Linked DNA regions of Homo sapiens: all the other regions are linked to region 1. The links are contacts of gene promoters, found by promoter capture Hi-C in blood cells and fetal thymus (Javierre and others, 2016). All regions are on one chromosome and are shown on one strand. The core of a region is centred on a gene start or on the middle of the fragment in contact, and the rest is flanking DNA. Distances in the headings are between cores, read along the strand shown. Region 1 holds the start of MED12L (mediator complex subunit 12L). Region 2 holds the start of ERICH6-AS1 (ERICH6 antisense RNA 1). Region 3 has its middle 27 kb from the start of SIAH2. Region 4 has its middle 20 kb from the start of ERICH6. Region 5 overlaps SIAH2 (siah E3 ubiquitin protein ligase 2).

Evidence for each region. The method cuts DNA at HindIII sites, captures the fragments that hold promoters and counts their contacts. A CHiCAGO score of 5 or more calls a contact.
Region 2: the fragment with the promoter of ERICH6-AS1 here is called in contact with the fragment with the promoter of MED12L in region 1 in 1 of 17 cell types (fetal thymus); the score reaches 5.9 in fetal thymus.
Region 3: a fragment that was not itself captured here is called in contact with the fragment with the promoter of MED12L in region 1 in 2 of 17 cell types (megakaryocytes and M1 macrophages); the score reaches 9.5 in megakaryocytes.
Region 4: a contact is called between a fragment that was not itself captured here and the fragment with the promoter of MED12L in region 1, in 1 of 17 cell types (megakaryocytes). The highest score is 6.1, in megakaryocytes.
Region 5: a fragment that was not itself captured here is called in contact with the fragment with the promoter of MED12L in region 1 in 1 of 17 cell types (megakaryocytes); the score reaches 6.0 in megakaryocytes.

What each region holds. Positions count from the first base shown.
Region 1 is chr3:151,084,412-151,087,111 of GRCh38, reverse strand. It overlaps MED12L (mediator complex subunit 12L), which reads right to left and starts at 1,448. Exons shown (of 45, transcript NM_001393769.1): 1 at 1,176-1,448; 2 at 87-314. The coding sequence starts at 185. RefSeq lists silencers at 696-990, 1,427-1,796. The HindIII fragment of the contact is 3,991 bases long and covers 1-2,700 here.
Region 2 is chr3:150,702,280-150,704,979 of GRCh38, reverse strand. ERICH6-AS1 (ERICH6 antisense RNA 1) reads right to left here and starts at 1,416. Exons shown (of 3, transcript NR_121675.1): 1 at 1,313-1,416. It overlaps ERICH6 (glutamate rich 6), which reads left to right and starts at 1,060. Exons shown (of 14, transcript NM_152394.5): 1 at 1,060-1,484. The coding sequence starts at 1,082. RefSeq lists enhancers at 865-954, 1,105-1,184. The HindIII fragment of the contact is 4,487 bases long and covers 1-2,700 here.
Region 3 is chr3:150,788,747-150,791,446 of GRCh38, reverse strand. No RefSeq gene overlaps it. Among named protein-coding and RNA genes, the nearest start is that of SIAH2, 27 kb to the right of the region's middle. The HindIII fragment of the contact is 3,952 bases long and covers 1-2,700 here.
Region 4 is chr3:150,723,025-150,725,724 of GRCh38, reverse strand. No RefSeq gene overlaps it. Among named protein-coding and RNA genes, the nearest start is that of ERICH6, 20 kb to the right of the region's middle. RefSeq lists enhancers at 1-69, 70-571. The HindIII fragment of the contact is 876 bases long and covers 849-1,724 here.
Region 5 is chr3:150,757,099-150,759,798 of GRCh38, reverse strand. All of the region lies in intron 1 of SIAH2 (siah E3 ubiquitin protein ligase 2), which reads left to right. Among named protein-coding and RNA genes, the nearest start is that of SIAH2-AS1, 3.5 kb to the left of the region's middle. RefSeq lists an enhancer at 310-369. The HindIII fragment of the contact is 3,606 bases long and covers 1-2,700 here.

The DNA of each region.
Region 1 (2,700 bases), core at 199-2,698:
CGGCGATGCCCGCTGGGCCAACTTGGCCCCGGGTCAGTGCTGCAGAGCGCGGCCCCGGTTGCCGGGGAGGCCGCCGGCGCCCTTACCTCCTTCTGCTTGGGGTCCTGTGGGTAGACGTCGGGCGGCCCGAGCCGGGGGCGCTTCAGCGGTCTCTGCTCATAGCTGAGAAGCCCGAAGGCGGCCATGATCTCTCATGTTAACCGGCGAAATGAATGAGAGTTGGAGCTGGAGCAGCCGCCTCTGAGCACCAGGGAGCAGCACTTTGCAGACAGACTCCCTCTCTCCCCCTCCTCGCTCGCTCGCTCGCTGTGGCGCTGCAGGCAGGAGGAATAAAGCAGGTTGGATGCTGCCGCTGCCCGGCAGCAGACACGCACTGATGGGGACAGCCTTCGGCGGGTACTCGGCTGCGCTCGAGCCCCGGGACGCACCGCTCCGGTGGCGGCGGCGGAGGGACTAGAGGTCGGCCAGGGTCCTCCGCGGCGCCTGCCTCCTCTGCTCCCCCCTACCTTGTCTCCAGGGGGAGGAGCAGCTGATGGGAACGTGTGACTTTTTTCACCAATGGACCCAAACCCACCCCAGCTGGGCGCAGGATGGGGGTGGGGGTGGGGCACTGGAAAAAAAAAAAAAAAAACTTTTCTTGGCGCCTAGGCTGGTGGCTGAAGTGCTCGCCCAAGGCGAGGGTGGCCCTCCCCTCCCGGGAAGAAGCTGTGGAGCGGACCGCCCCCGCCTCTCTTCCCCGGCAGGGACCCTTCCCCCGCCGCCACGCGCCCCGCAGACCCCGCCACCTGGACACGGACCGGGCCAGTGCAGGCAGAGGCAGGTCTGGAGGGGGCGCGAGACGCAGGGATGCGGCCGGTGGGAAGCGGCCGGTGCCTCCTAGACGCCCGCCAGGTTCCAGTGGCGCATCCGCAGCTACGGTCCCCTCGGCGGCTCCGGGCAGGCGCCGAGGCGCGCTGCTGGCGGTCGCGGCGGCTGGAGGGGGCCGTGCTCACGGTGGCGTGGGGCCGACTTAACCCTTTACAGTCCCTCCAGGGGCTGGGGAAGGGGGTGAGGAGCGATGGCTGTGAGCGCCGACGGGGGCAGCCAGCCCGCAGGCGTCTCGGGCTCCTCCAGCCCGCCGCCTCCCCACGGCCCCAGCTCCTCTTCCCTTCCGCCCCCAACCCCCAACACTTTACCTGTTGGTCCGCGGCTAGCGGGCTGGGGCTGGCGGCGGCGGGGTCACTCCGGCCGCCGCAGCCTCCATCATTCGGGTTGGGATGGGGGACTTGGATTTGATTTTATTTGTGCGGTATCTGCCTCGCCCGGACGAGCTCCGGGAACGCCGCGAAGTTTGCCACTGTCTGGGGGCGGCGAGCGACGCCGGCTCGCCGCCGGCGTTCTCGCCCCCACGGCCCGGGAGCGCGAGCTTCCGAGTTGGCGGACGGCGGCGCGGCGTCCGCACTGAGCATGCCCAGCTCGGCGGCCGGACCGCGGAGGAGTTGGCTGAGAGCGCGGTGAGCGCGCTCCAATCCGCCTCTCCGGGTTTTCGCAGCCGCAGAGCGCGCAGCCCGCGGGCCCCGGCGCCGAGGCTGGCCCTGGGGTGAACCTGGGCGAGGGAGGGAGCGCCCTCTGGAGCCCTGCTCCAAGCCCCCCGCTGCACCCTCCGCCTCGACCTCCCCAGAGGTCGCGGTCCCCGTGGCCTGGGCCGAAAACCTCACCTGCGCCGGGAGCGTGGAAGGGGCGGGGGGGGTGATCCTCCAGGGCAGACCTTGGTCATCCAACCCGCCCTCGCTCCTCGCTTCGGGGCGCGGGCACCAAGATGCTGGGCCACCTGGCGCGAGCTCTGCGAGACCGGAGCCGCGGAGGCGGGCTCGGCCTGTCCTGAGGGACCCCGCGGGAGGCGTGCCCGGGAGAATGCGCCCGCACTTGGCCAAGAATGATGGCTGCCATTTATGGAGCCTTCGCTACGTGCCAGGATCTTGATAGTCAGAATCTCTGGTCCTTACAACCTTCCACGGTCTTACTGTACCCTTTTTATGGATGGAGAAATTGAGCCAGCTCAGAGAGGACCACTCACTTGCCGAAAGCCACGAAACGAGTCGGAATTTGAACCCACGACTGATTCTAAGTTTCTGACCTGTTTTCCCTGACTTGGACTTGGAGGGACTGGGTTCCTAACCTGTCCTTGCCTGATGGACTCACGTTCTCCACGGCTTGAGGCATTCTCGGCCTTCCCTCTCTGTAAGGTGGTAAAGGCAGATTCTAACCGGAAGCCTTTGATACATAGTAGGTGCTCTGGAAATGCTGGTTGAATCTGAACATCAACTTTGATGTTCGTTGACATTTAAGCAAAGGGGGAAGAAGGAGATAAATAAAGTGAAGGTAATGTGGTAGAGGCTAGTTCCTCACTCCTGATCCTGACCTGTGAGCACCTCCAAACCCAGTTTGAGGCTGAGTCAGGTGTTTAGCTTTTGGCTTCCTTAATCTGAACAATTACTTCTAGAGAGCATTTACCTAACTTCACTGGAGGGCATTTCCTGACCACCTTCCCCATCTTGCCCCAGGGTCTTCTCTTCCACTAATATCCTGGGATTAATTTCATGGCTGGACTTGCCCTTGTGATACAGGCATCTATCAAATGTAGCTCCCTTGTTTGAAAGAAAGGACAGTTTTTTGTTGTTGTTGTTTTCTTTGTTTGGTTGGTTGGTTGTTTTTTGAGAC
Region 2 (2,700 bases), core at 167-2,666, 380 kb after region 1:
TCGGGAGGCTGAGGCAGGAGAATTGCTTGAACCCAGGAGGCTGAGGTTGCAGGGAGCCGATATGGTGCCACTGCACTCCAGCCTGGGTGACAGAGCGAGACTCCGTCTCAAAATAAATATAATATAATATAATATAATATAATATAATATAATATAATATAATATAATATATAAAATTGGCCAGGCGTGGTGACACACATTTGTTGTCCTTGCCACTTGGGAGACCGAGGTGGGAGGATCACTGGAGCCCAAGAGTTCAGGGCTGAAGTGAACCATGATGCCGCCACTGCACTCCAGCCTGGGTGACAGAGTGACATCCTGTCTCTCAAAAATAAAAAATGTATATATTTTACAAAAATGTAAGTAAATACAAAGTCCCAGAAGGACGCAGGTGGTACCTAGGTGGCCAGATGCTTCAGGACTTTTCTACTCCAGGATGGATAGATGGGCCAAGTAAGAAGCAGGACCCAGATCACAGCAAGGAGCAAAATTTATGGGACGCTAAAAATGTCGCCAATCAAGATTAATTAATATTAATCTAACAATATTTAAGATAACTAACATTTAAGGCAATTTTAATACGCTTATTAATATTTAAAGCTATTTTAAAAATATCCGCAAACGAGGGCCCAAGGGCTGGCGCCTGATTTTGTAAATAAAGTTTCACTGGACGTTCCAGCAAGCATCTGTCTACTCAATAACCAGACTCCAGCATCCGCAATACCAAATGGCACCGTGTGTGTCCGTCGCTAGAAGCCACTTCCTCCACCCAAGTTAAAAAAAAAAAAAAAGGCCCCAAATAAGCTGAGAGACGAAGAAAAGATCGTTTCTCCGCAGGCTGCCAGGGGTTTCAGAGACGCTGAAGAGCAGGGACAGAAAGAAGTCTGCGGTGGCCCCCACCGGCCCTCGGCACCCACATTCTATCCGGCTAACCAGCTCCTGCCGCTTTAAATCCGGGAGGCTCGGTGGCGCAGGGCAAGCAGTTGCCCGGGGAGACCAACGCACAACAGAGGCTCGCGCTCGCGAGAGCCGACCGGGGCCGCGGCCAAAGAGCTGGCTGTAATCCCGCCTCCCGCCAGCCATGGCCCACTTGCGCTCGCCTAGCGGCTTCGGAGACCCGGGGAAGAAGGACCAGAAGGAGTCAGAGGAGGAGTTAGAGGAGGAGGAGGAGGAGGAAGAGGTGGAGGAGGAGGAGGAAGAGGTGGAGGAGGAGGAGGAAGAGGTGGAGGAGGAGGAGGAGGAGGTGGTGGAGGAGGAGTTGGTGGGGGAAGAGCAGGAGTTGGAGGCCCCTGAGACGTTCAGCGAAGAGTACCTCTGGAAGGTCACGGACATCGGTGACTACGACGACGACTTCCCAGACGTGCGCCCCCGCTTAGCCAGCATCGTCAGCCCTAGCCTGACCTCTACGTTCGTGCCCAGCCAGAGCGCGACCAGCACTGAAACGCCGAGCGCAAGCCCACCCTCCAGCACCTCCTCGCATAAAAGTACCGCCCCCGACCCACCCCTTCCTCGAGGGTTTCTCGTCTCCAGGGGGCACCTGGTCCACCCACTCCTGGGTGGTGCCTTCGTCGACCTGCGCGTCGTGCCTGATTTCTAAATGCATGCACCATTCCACACACCTAATCTCTCTCACGCCCTTGTCAGAGACACTGAACCCTTGGCTGAGCTGTTGTGATGAGGCACGATTTAGGATATAGGCGAAACACCATAAAAGTTGAACTTGGGCATGGCTGTATGAAGTGCTTTTTTTTTTTTAGACAAGAGTCTCGCTCTGTCGCCCAGGCTGGAGTGCAGTGGCTGCAGCCTCGACCTCCTGGGCTCAAGCCTCCCACCGCAGCCTCTCGAGTAACTGGAACTACAGGCACACGCCACCACACCCAGCTAATCTGGCGTCTCACTATGTTGCCCAGGCTGCTGGGAGTGCTCATTTTTATAACATTTTTGCGTGCATTCACACCGTGACATCTCTCTCTCTCTCTCTCTCTGTTCCCCCTCCCCTCCCTCTTCCTCCCCTCCCTCTCCCCTCCCCCTCTCTTTCTCTCTCCCTCTCTCTCTCTCTCACAGACACACACACACACACACACACACACTCATATTATTTCCAGAGAAGTGCCTTAAGGGTGCTGTACTACTGAAACAGTCCTGCAAAAAAAAAAAACAACTCTCTTTTGTGTTTAACATCCTGTGCTGAAGCCACTCCAGTCACTTCCTTGAAAAAAGAAGCAGAGAAGTCTTCTAGAGTAGGCTTCTCAAGCTCTAGTGTTGACATTTTGGTCTGGATAATTCTTTGTTGGGGAGGATTGGGGACTGTCCTGTGAATTACAGGATATTTGGCAGCATCCCTGTCCTCTACCCGTGGCTGTGCTAGAAGCACACATCCTTGCGATGATCAAAAATGTCTCCAGGCCGGGCGCGGTGGCTCACGCCTGTGATCCCAGCACTTTGGGAGGCCTAGGCGGGCAGATCACGAGGTCGGGAGATCGAGACCATTCTGGCTAACATGGTGAAACCCCGTCTCTACTAAAAATACAAAAAATTAGCCGGGCGTGGCGGCGTGCGCCTGTAGTCCCAGCTACTTGGGAGGCTGAGGCAGGAGAATAGCGTGAACCCGGGAGGTGGAGCTTGCAGTGAGCCAAGATCGCGCCATTGCACTCCAGCCTAGGCGACAGAGCGAGACTCCGTCTCAAAAAAAAAAAAAAA
Region 3 (2,700 bases), core at 129-2,628, 300 kb after region 1:
TAATATAGAACTGCATTATTTTACCTAATAAGTCTTTGAGAGAGGCAGGATGAGCCAGATGTGCTGTGGTGAAGGTTCTAGCTCTATTTCCCACTCTTCTTTCAATTTTCCCCTCCTCCATGTGAACAGCCCATCACTACCATCTGATAGTAACTGATTTAGGAACATAGGCTTAAACCATCAGTAGCTGGTATTCCCAGGGCTGGTCTAGGGATGGGCGTATGATCCAATTTGGCCTAATCAGACTTCAGGGAATGCCTTATTTCATGGGTGGAGGAGAGGTTTTCTTTTCCTTCCTGTGGATGTAAACAAGAACACTTATTGCCCCAGTCACTGCTGCCCATCATCTTGCAACCATAGGGGTAAGTCAGCTTGAGGACGCTCCATGTGGAGGAGAGGAAAGCTGAAAGAGGAGTGGGAAATAGAGCTAGACCCCTCACTGAAGCACATCTGGCTCCCCCTGTCTCTCCAAGTGCAACATGTGCTATGATCAAGATGTGTTCCATCTAGAGGCTCTAGGAAAAGATTTGTTTTATTTCCTTTCTCAGCTTCTAAAGGCCCTCTGCATTCCTTAGCTTGTGGCCTCTTTCTCCATCTTCAGAGCTGGCAATGTTGCAACTCTGAACATTCTTTCATAATCACATCTCCTTCTGACTACAACTGGGAAAGGATTTCTTCTTTTAAAGATCCATGTGATTAGATTGAACTCACACCAATAATGAATACTGTCCCTATCTCAAAGCCCTTAACCAAATCACATCTGCAAAGTTCCTTTGCCAGTAAGATAATGTATTCACAAATTTCAGAGACTTAGGACTTAGACAGCTTTGGGCGGGTGTTATTCTGCCTACCATACCACCTCATAGTTCCTTCAGGCTCAGATCCACACTTTGTAGTTATATATTTCCAAACTCTAGATAGAGGTCAAGAAAGTCAGGAAAAAAGCATTTCCACAAGAATAAAAAGAAAAAAACTAAGTGGATTCAGCAATGTGTTCCATTTGATGGGTAACAGTCTCTCCCTGGATTAAATAATAACTGTTGAAAAGGTCCTACAGGCTAATGTTAGCTAAAAGAGGGCTGAACAAAGCCCAAATTAAACTGCGTAAATTCCCTGAGGTCTCTGGAGAGTTTTCTGTATAAAAGGAAGGTCACAGGTGATATTGTATTTCTTATAACCCCAAGGACACAATAACTTTTATGTCAAACTGGAAATGAAATAAAATGCTGGCTTCTGAAAATTCATCAGATCAAGGAGAACATCTTGACTGGACAATGAGAAAATTTATAACTCTTCAGTCACCTCCTCGATCCTTTTAACTCTGGGGATTGCCATTGAATAGCTAACTCAGTCATGGAAATTAACTTATCCAGTCAAAAGGAAATTGTCTGCCTAAGGATGAACACAGAGGATCTGGCTACAACTAAAAACTCTTGCTCTCCTAGCTTGGCTACTCAATAGAAAAGGAAAGGGAAGTGTGAAAACATCAAATAGAAGAAGCAGTAATGAATTTTGCCAGCTACCTTTTTTTTCAATAGTGAGCAGTGCCGAGAATGAACATAAGGAATCAGTGCTCAGCAGACCTGGATTGTAGCCCCGCTGGGACATTAACTAGTTGTTAAGACTTTGGTCAAATGCCTTAACCTTCTGGGGACCATGTTTCCTTGTCCTTTTTTAAAAAATTTTAAAAATATTGACATGCATTTTTTAAGATGCATTAAAGAAAAAATTCATAATACTTCCACCACATAACACACACATATGCACACACACACACACACACACACACACACCCCTACTTCCTCTTATTCCACCCTCCAAGGGTGGAACGTCTAGTGAGTATCCCCTCGATACCTTTCTCCATGCTCGCATGCAAGCAGATATTCCTAAAGAGTTTGAATTTTTTGTTCTTACAAAAACTGAATCATACTATGTTTAAGACTCCACAATTTCTTTTTTTTTTTCATTCAACTTACTATGGTGATCCTCTAGAACAATTCATATAGATCTAATTCATTCCTACACACTAATTTAAATTGGAATTATGAATATACCAAATTACATTTATACCAAAATATATCCTATTGAAGTACAGTTCAGTTGTATCTCAATTTTGTTTTGTTTTGCTACTAAAAAATGTGCAAAAATCATCTCAATTACGTATTTCTATGTTCTACAGCTTTCATATCTGAAAAATATACTCCTCAAAATGAGATTTGGGGCAAAAAATATTTTTAAAAATTTTAATAAATATTACTATACTATCTCCCCAAGAGCAGTAATAATTTTCAGTCCTACCTTCAGTATATGAGAAGGCCTGTTTTCCCTCTATTAGCACTGTATGTCATTAATCTTTTTAGTTTTTGCCACTTGATAAGGAAAAAATGGTATCTTGTGTTGTTTAATTTGCAATTTTGAATGCTAGTAAGGTTGTTCATCTCATTTCTTAGTAAACTTTAGTTGCTAATTTAGGTTTTTACTCTGTACAGACACTATTCTTATGAGAAAAATGGAGGCATATTTTGGACTAAATCTCTAGCAAAATCACCGTAACTGTTATCTGGAATACCAGTTTAGCCAGAAACCAATCAGTACCTGAAAGCAGTCTGTAGCTTGGCTGTTGTATAACACCTCAACCCCATTTTAAGGAAGATCTTCAAAAAACTTCTGGAGAAGTCTAAATTGCAAACGATGATCACC
Region 4 (2,700 bases), core at 37-2,536, 360 kb after region 1:
CAGCCCCTTCCGGCTGTGCTGGAAGCTCTGGCTGCTTGCTGGCTCGCCCCAGTGGCAAGAAGCTGATGCAAAACAACCCTTGCACATTACCATGAGACTAGGCGAGGCGAGACTCAGTTTCCCAGGAGCACCCCAGCAGACTGGGGCCTCAGGCCTACCCCAAGTCCATTCCTGCAGGTGTCCACTGGCCAGCAGTCATGGCGACAATGAGAGGGCCACCTAGTGCAGAAATACAGACCAGGCCATCAACGCAAAAGAAGCCAGTGAGGGCCCGTTCGCTGACCTCTCGGAGTGTAGCAGGCACCCAGGTCTTGACAGACTCCTCTATAGCACATTCCTAAGGCACCCTCCGCTCCAGTCTCCCTGAACTTCCCACAGTTCACAAACATACCGAGTTCTTTCACGACTCTGTGTCTCTGCCCAGACTAGTCTCTCAGCCCAGAAGGTCTTTTCCCACCTTGTTCCTGTAAACTACTTCCTGTTCATCCTTTAAAAGACGCTCCTGAGAAAACCTCCTCAGATACCCCAAGCCAGATCAGCTGTCCTGTCTCCTGTGTTCTTCCTTCCTGGTTCTCTGGAACAGCATTCACCTTGTGATACACTGACTTTTTTTTTTTTTAAGCTGTCTGTTCTCTCTCTCTCTTAAACCAAGAACTCCTCAAGAGCAAGGCCTGTGACTGATTCCGTTTTATATTTTAGGGCCCTTTCCCAGACCAGGAGCACACTAGATGTTCCCCAGGCAAGTATTAAAGAACTGAATAGATGAAGAGCAAGGAACATCATCAAAAAACAGCAAATAGGGTGGTGACTGTTGTTTCCCCAAAGCAAGCAGAGCCTGAGACAAAGCTTATATGAAGTTTATTTAGGAAATGCTGGGCATGGTGGCTCTCACCTGTAATCCCAGCACTTTCAGAGGCCAAGGTGGGCAGATCACCTGAGGTCAGGAGCTCGAGACCAGCCTGGCAAAGTTATACACATTCTTATGGTGTATACTACATGGTGAAACCCCCATCTCTACTAAAAATACAAAAATTAGCCAGGCGAGGTGACATGTGCCTGTAATCCCAGCTACTCAGGAGGCTGAGGCAGGAGAATCGCTTGAACCCAGGAGGCAGAGGTTGCAGGGAGCCGAGATCACACCACTGCACTCCAGCCTGGGCAACAGAGCGAGGCTCCCTCTAAAAAAAAAAAAAAAAAAAAAAAAAAAAGACATTTATTTAGGAAAGTGATTCCAGGCAACAGACTGAAGGACTGAAGAGGGGAGTAGGGGAGGAAAGAAAGCCAGCACAGGTGCATTATCCGCCGGTCACTGCCTTAGGTAACTGAGGCTCAATCCCGCTAGGGGCTTCTGAGGCACTGTGTAGAAGGACCTCAGAATTGTCCACTGAGAGAGAGAAGAGGGAGGTCTTCACCCTCCAGTTCCCATCCCCAGCTCATCAAAGGGTACCCCCTATCACGGTAAGTACCCTGCAAGTCCAGAAGGCAACCAGGAGGCAAATGTGTCCTGTGCCACGCTGCAGGATCCAGGAAACGTCAGGCAGCCAAAGCCAGAGCCATCAGCCACACCTGCACAAAACTGGTTGCTACAGCAGTGGCTGAAGTTGCAGCTGGGCCAACAGGATGTGCAGCATCCATTCAGGTCTGTGTAAGAGTAGGCGAAGTTAAAGCTAGAAAAGTCGCGTTAAGATTATATTGTAGAGGGCCTTAAACATCAGCCCAAAGCTTTATTTGCCACTAAGGATTTCCACACAATGCAGTAATATAAATAGCAGTACCAAGGGGGTGATTTGAGTTCCTTTCAGTCGCCTCCCTCAATAAACCCAATCTGCCATTCTCCAAAAAAAACAAAACAAAACAAAACAAAATATTATCTTAGTAAAAACAATGCAAGTCACCTCCTGCTCCTCTCATTAATCAGTTGCCATGCTTAAGCCACTCTATAGAAATACTAAGCACCCAGTCAGGTGCAACTGTCTCTCTTACCCTTCTATGAGGAAACTCCAATAAATAAATTGTTTTAATGTTTAGATCTCTGTGTCCATCTTTAAGATAAAAAAAAAAAAGGCGAAGCTTAGGAACCTTTAAGGAAGAAACCAGTCAAGGTGGCTCATGCCTGTAATCCTAGCACTTTGGGAAACCAAGGCAGGAGGATTGCTTGAGTCCAGAAATTTGAGACCAGCCTAGGCAGCATAGCATAGACCCTGGAAAGAAAAGAAAAGAGAAAGAAAAAAGAGAAGAGAAAAGAAAAGAAAAGGAAGCAGGGGGAGAGAGAGAGAGAAAGAGAAAGAAGATAGGAAGGAAGGAAGGAAGAAAGGAAGGAAGGAAAGAAGGAAGGAGAGAAGGAAAGAAAGAAAGAAAGAAAGAAAGAAAGAAAGAAAGAAAGAAAGAAAGAAAGAAAGAAAGAAAGAAAGAGAAAGAAAGAAAAAGAAAGAAAGACAAACCAGTCAAGAGGGCCCTCCTTGTTCAATCCATAAGGAGTCTTCAGATGATAGGGAAGTTCCATTCTAATTTCCAAAAAGACTTAGAGGAATTATTCTCTGATTTGCCACTATTCAGAACAGTCTGGGAAGCATTTCCCTATCTCCTCCTGACTCTGGTGGCACACCTATATGAAAATCTGCCATGGTTGCTGTCTTTGTCCTTTTGTGGTAAATTAGATTTTCTTGAACAGTCAAAGATCAAAGGCAAGATGAGAGATTA
Region 5 (2,700 bases), core at 49-2,548, 330 kb after region 1:
CATTCTATGAAAAGAAGGGAGGCTATCTGGAATGTTATTGGATGCCCTCTATCTGCCAGTTACTTTGCAGGGGTCAGCTTTTACTAGTTTGCCTTTTTTTTTTTTCAGATGAGGAAACTCATGCCTACAGAGTGGTTAAATGTGAAGTGACTTGTCAAATCACACAGCTAGTAAGAGGACCAGTCCAAGCACCTGCATCTCAAAGGCACAGATGTTTTGTCCTACACCTTACTACGTAGGGATTTCGAATCTGAGTGTATACTCAAGATTCTGAATCATAACTCAAGGTTGACACCAGTAACAAAACCGTCTGGTTGGATGAGTTCACCAGATGGGCCTCTTATGGGACCATCCCAAAATGACAACATACATACTCACTATGAAATTCATTGGCAGGAATTTTGTAGGGCATGTAGGGTAGGAAGATGGGAGGGTGGGGGAAACCTACAAACCTAGTATTTTGTGGGGTATCATCACAGCTCTGGACTGCTTCAGTTGGCAAAAAAATGGATGTATTGCCAAATAACTATCCCACTTAGGTTTAGGGTAATTAATTAAAGGCTAGAGTGTTGCCAGCACCTTTGATATGGGGAACCGGATGCATTATTAGCTCAGATCTTTGGGTGTGGTGACTCATGCCTGTAATCCCAGCACTTTGGGAGGCAGAGGTGAGCAGATCACCTGAGGTCAGGAGTTCGAGACCAGCCTGGACAACATAGTGAAACCCTGTCTCTACTAAAAATACAAAAATTAGGGCCAGGCGCAGTGGCTCACGTCTGTAATCCCAGCACTTTGGGAGGCTGAGGTGGGTGGATCACCTGAGGTCAGGAGTTTGAGACCAGCCTGACCAACATGGAGAAACCCCGTTTCTACTAAAAATACAAAAAAGTTAGCTGGGCATGGTGGCACATGCCTGTAATATCAGCTACTCAGGAGACTGAGGCAGGAGAATTGCTTGAACCCGGGAGGCAGAGGTTGCAGTGAGCCAAGATCACGTCATTGCATTCCAGCCTGGGCAACAAGAGTGAAACTCAGTCTCATTAAAAAAAAAAAAAAAAAAAATAGCCAGGTGTGGTGGCAGGCACCTGTAATCCCAGCTACTCAGGAGGCTGCGGCAGGAGAATCGCTTGAACCCAGGAGGTGGAGGTTGCAGTGAGCTGAGATTGTGCCACTGCACTCCAGCCTGGGTGACAGAGCAAGACTCTGTGTCAAAAAAAAAAAAAAAAAAATGGAATGTCTAATAGTGTATGGCTTTCTTCCGCTTGGGGTATTTTTTAATCCATTCTGTGGCTTGTTCCATGCCTGAGAACTTTTGACATCCTGTGCCCAGACTTAAACTCACCCCTTCAGTGTGTGGGTTTAGGGGGAGAAGTGAAGGTTGACACATTCATATCAACAACATAGTCTACTTTACCATCCAACGATGTATTTTGATATCAGCCAAGTATTTCTCTCTACAACTGTGAGCAATGCTAATCCACTCCAGCCTTCTTACACTGTAATGATACCTTTTCTTTGTCCTCTCTGAAAGTTTCTAGTAGCATATCTCCAAATAATTATTGAATTTGAAAGCCTCAGCTGGACAAGTCTTCTCTGTGGTTGAATTGTGACAATGTCTGTGTTCCTTAAAAAAATAAAAAATAACATAAAACCAAGTAAGGTTAGACAAAACAGTTGAAAGTTTAAAATCCCTTGGCCTCATCTAGTTCAGTGGAGACAAACTTTCTAAATGGGAGGAGGGCCATGTAATGAGAGGAGAGGAGAGGAGAGAAGTATTTGATGCACTCATGGCCTCAGGGTCAGGGAGACCTGGAGGAGCAGTGGAGATGGTGGAGAGCCAGAGAACAGGTGCCACCTCCCAAGAGGCAGCCTTTACTCACCTCTGGCTGATTGGTGGGGTTGGGGATGTGGGTACAGGCATATCAGACCTTTAGATTTTTTTCAAGAAAAGCCAGAAATCTGGATCTTTTTTTTTTCCTTTAAGAGATGTCATCTCACTATGTTGCCCAGGCTGGTCTTGATACTCCTGAGCTCAAGCAATCCTCCTATCTCGGCCCCCCAAAGTGCTGGGATTACAAGTGTGAGCCACCGTGCCCAGCCTGGATTTTTTTTTTATGTTAAATATCTCGATTTTTTTTCTAGCATTGGCTGACTTCACATGTATAACCACCACTTGCAGACAAAGCGAACCACCACGTCTCCAGGCCAAATTCCAGCTGCCAGCATGCAGCCTCTGATCTGATTCTCTTGTAGAAGCATTCCTTGAGCCTGGAAGTTCTCATTTAACTCTTGCCATACATGAACTTTGGAACTCTGTTAGGCCCTAACTGTTGGTGATTTTGTAGCTTGTTTTCTTTTCATCTTCATTTTGCCAAGAGAATATTATTTTCTGGCCATCAGGAACCCTCAGATGATGGCCTTGTGACTAGATGTTTGACTCTATACAGGTCAGTTTCTTTTTTGCACCTGAGGGTCTTTAAGAGAAGGGATTGGACTAAATGATTATCCCAAGGTTCTTTCTTACCCTAAAATTTTAAAATATAGTAAGCGGTCCCAGTGAAAAGAACGTGAGCCAGGAAACAGAAGACCTGGGTTCTCGTCCTGGCTTTGTGTGACTTTGGTCCAGTCACATACTTCCCTGACCCTGTTTGTTCATCCATTAGAAAGAACGGAGATGACGCCTAGTTAGTGGGTGCTTGG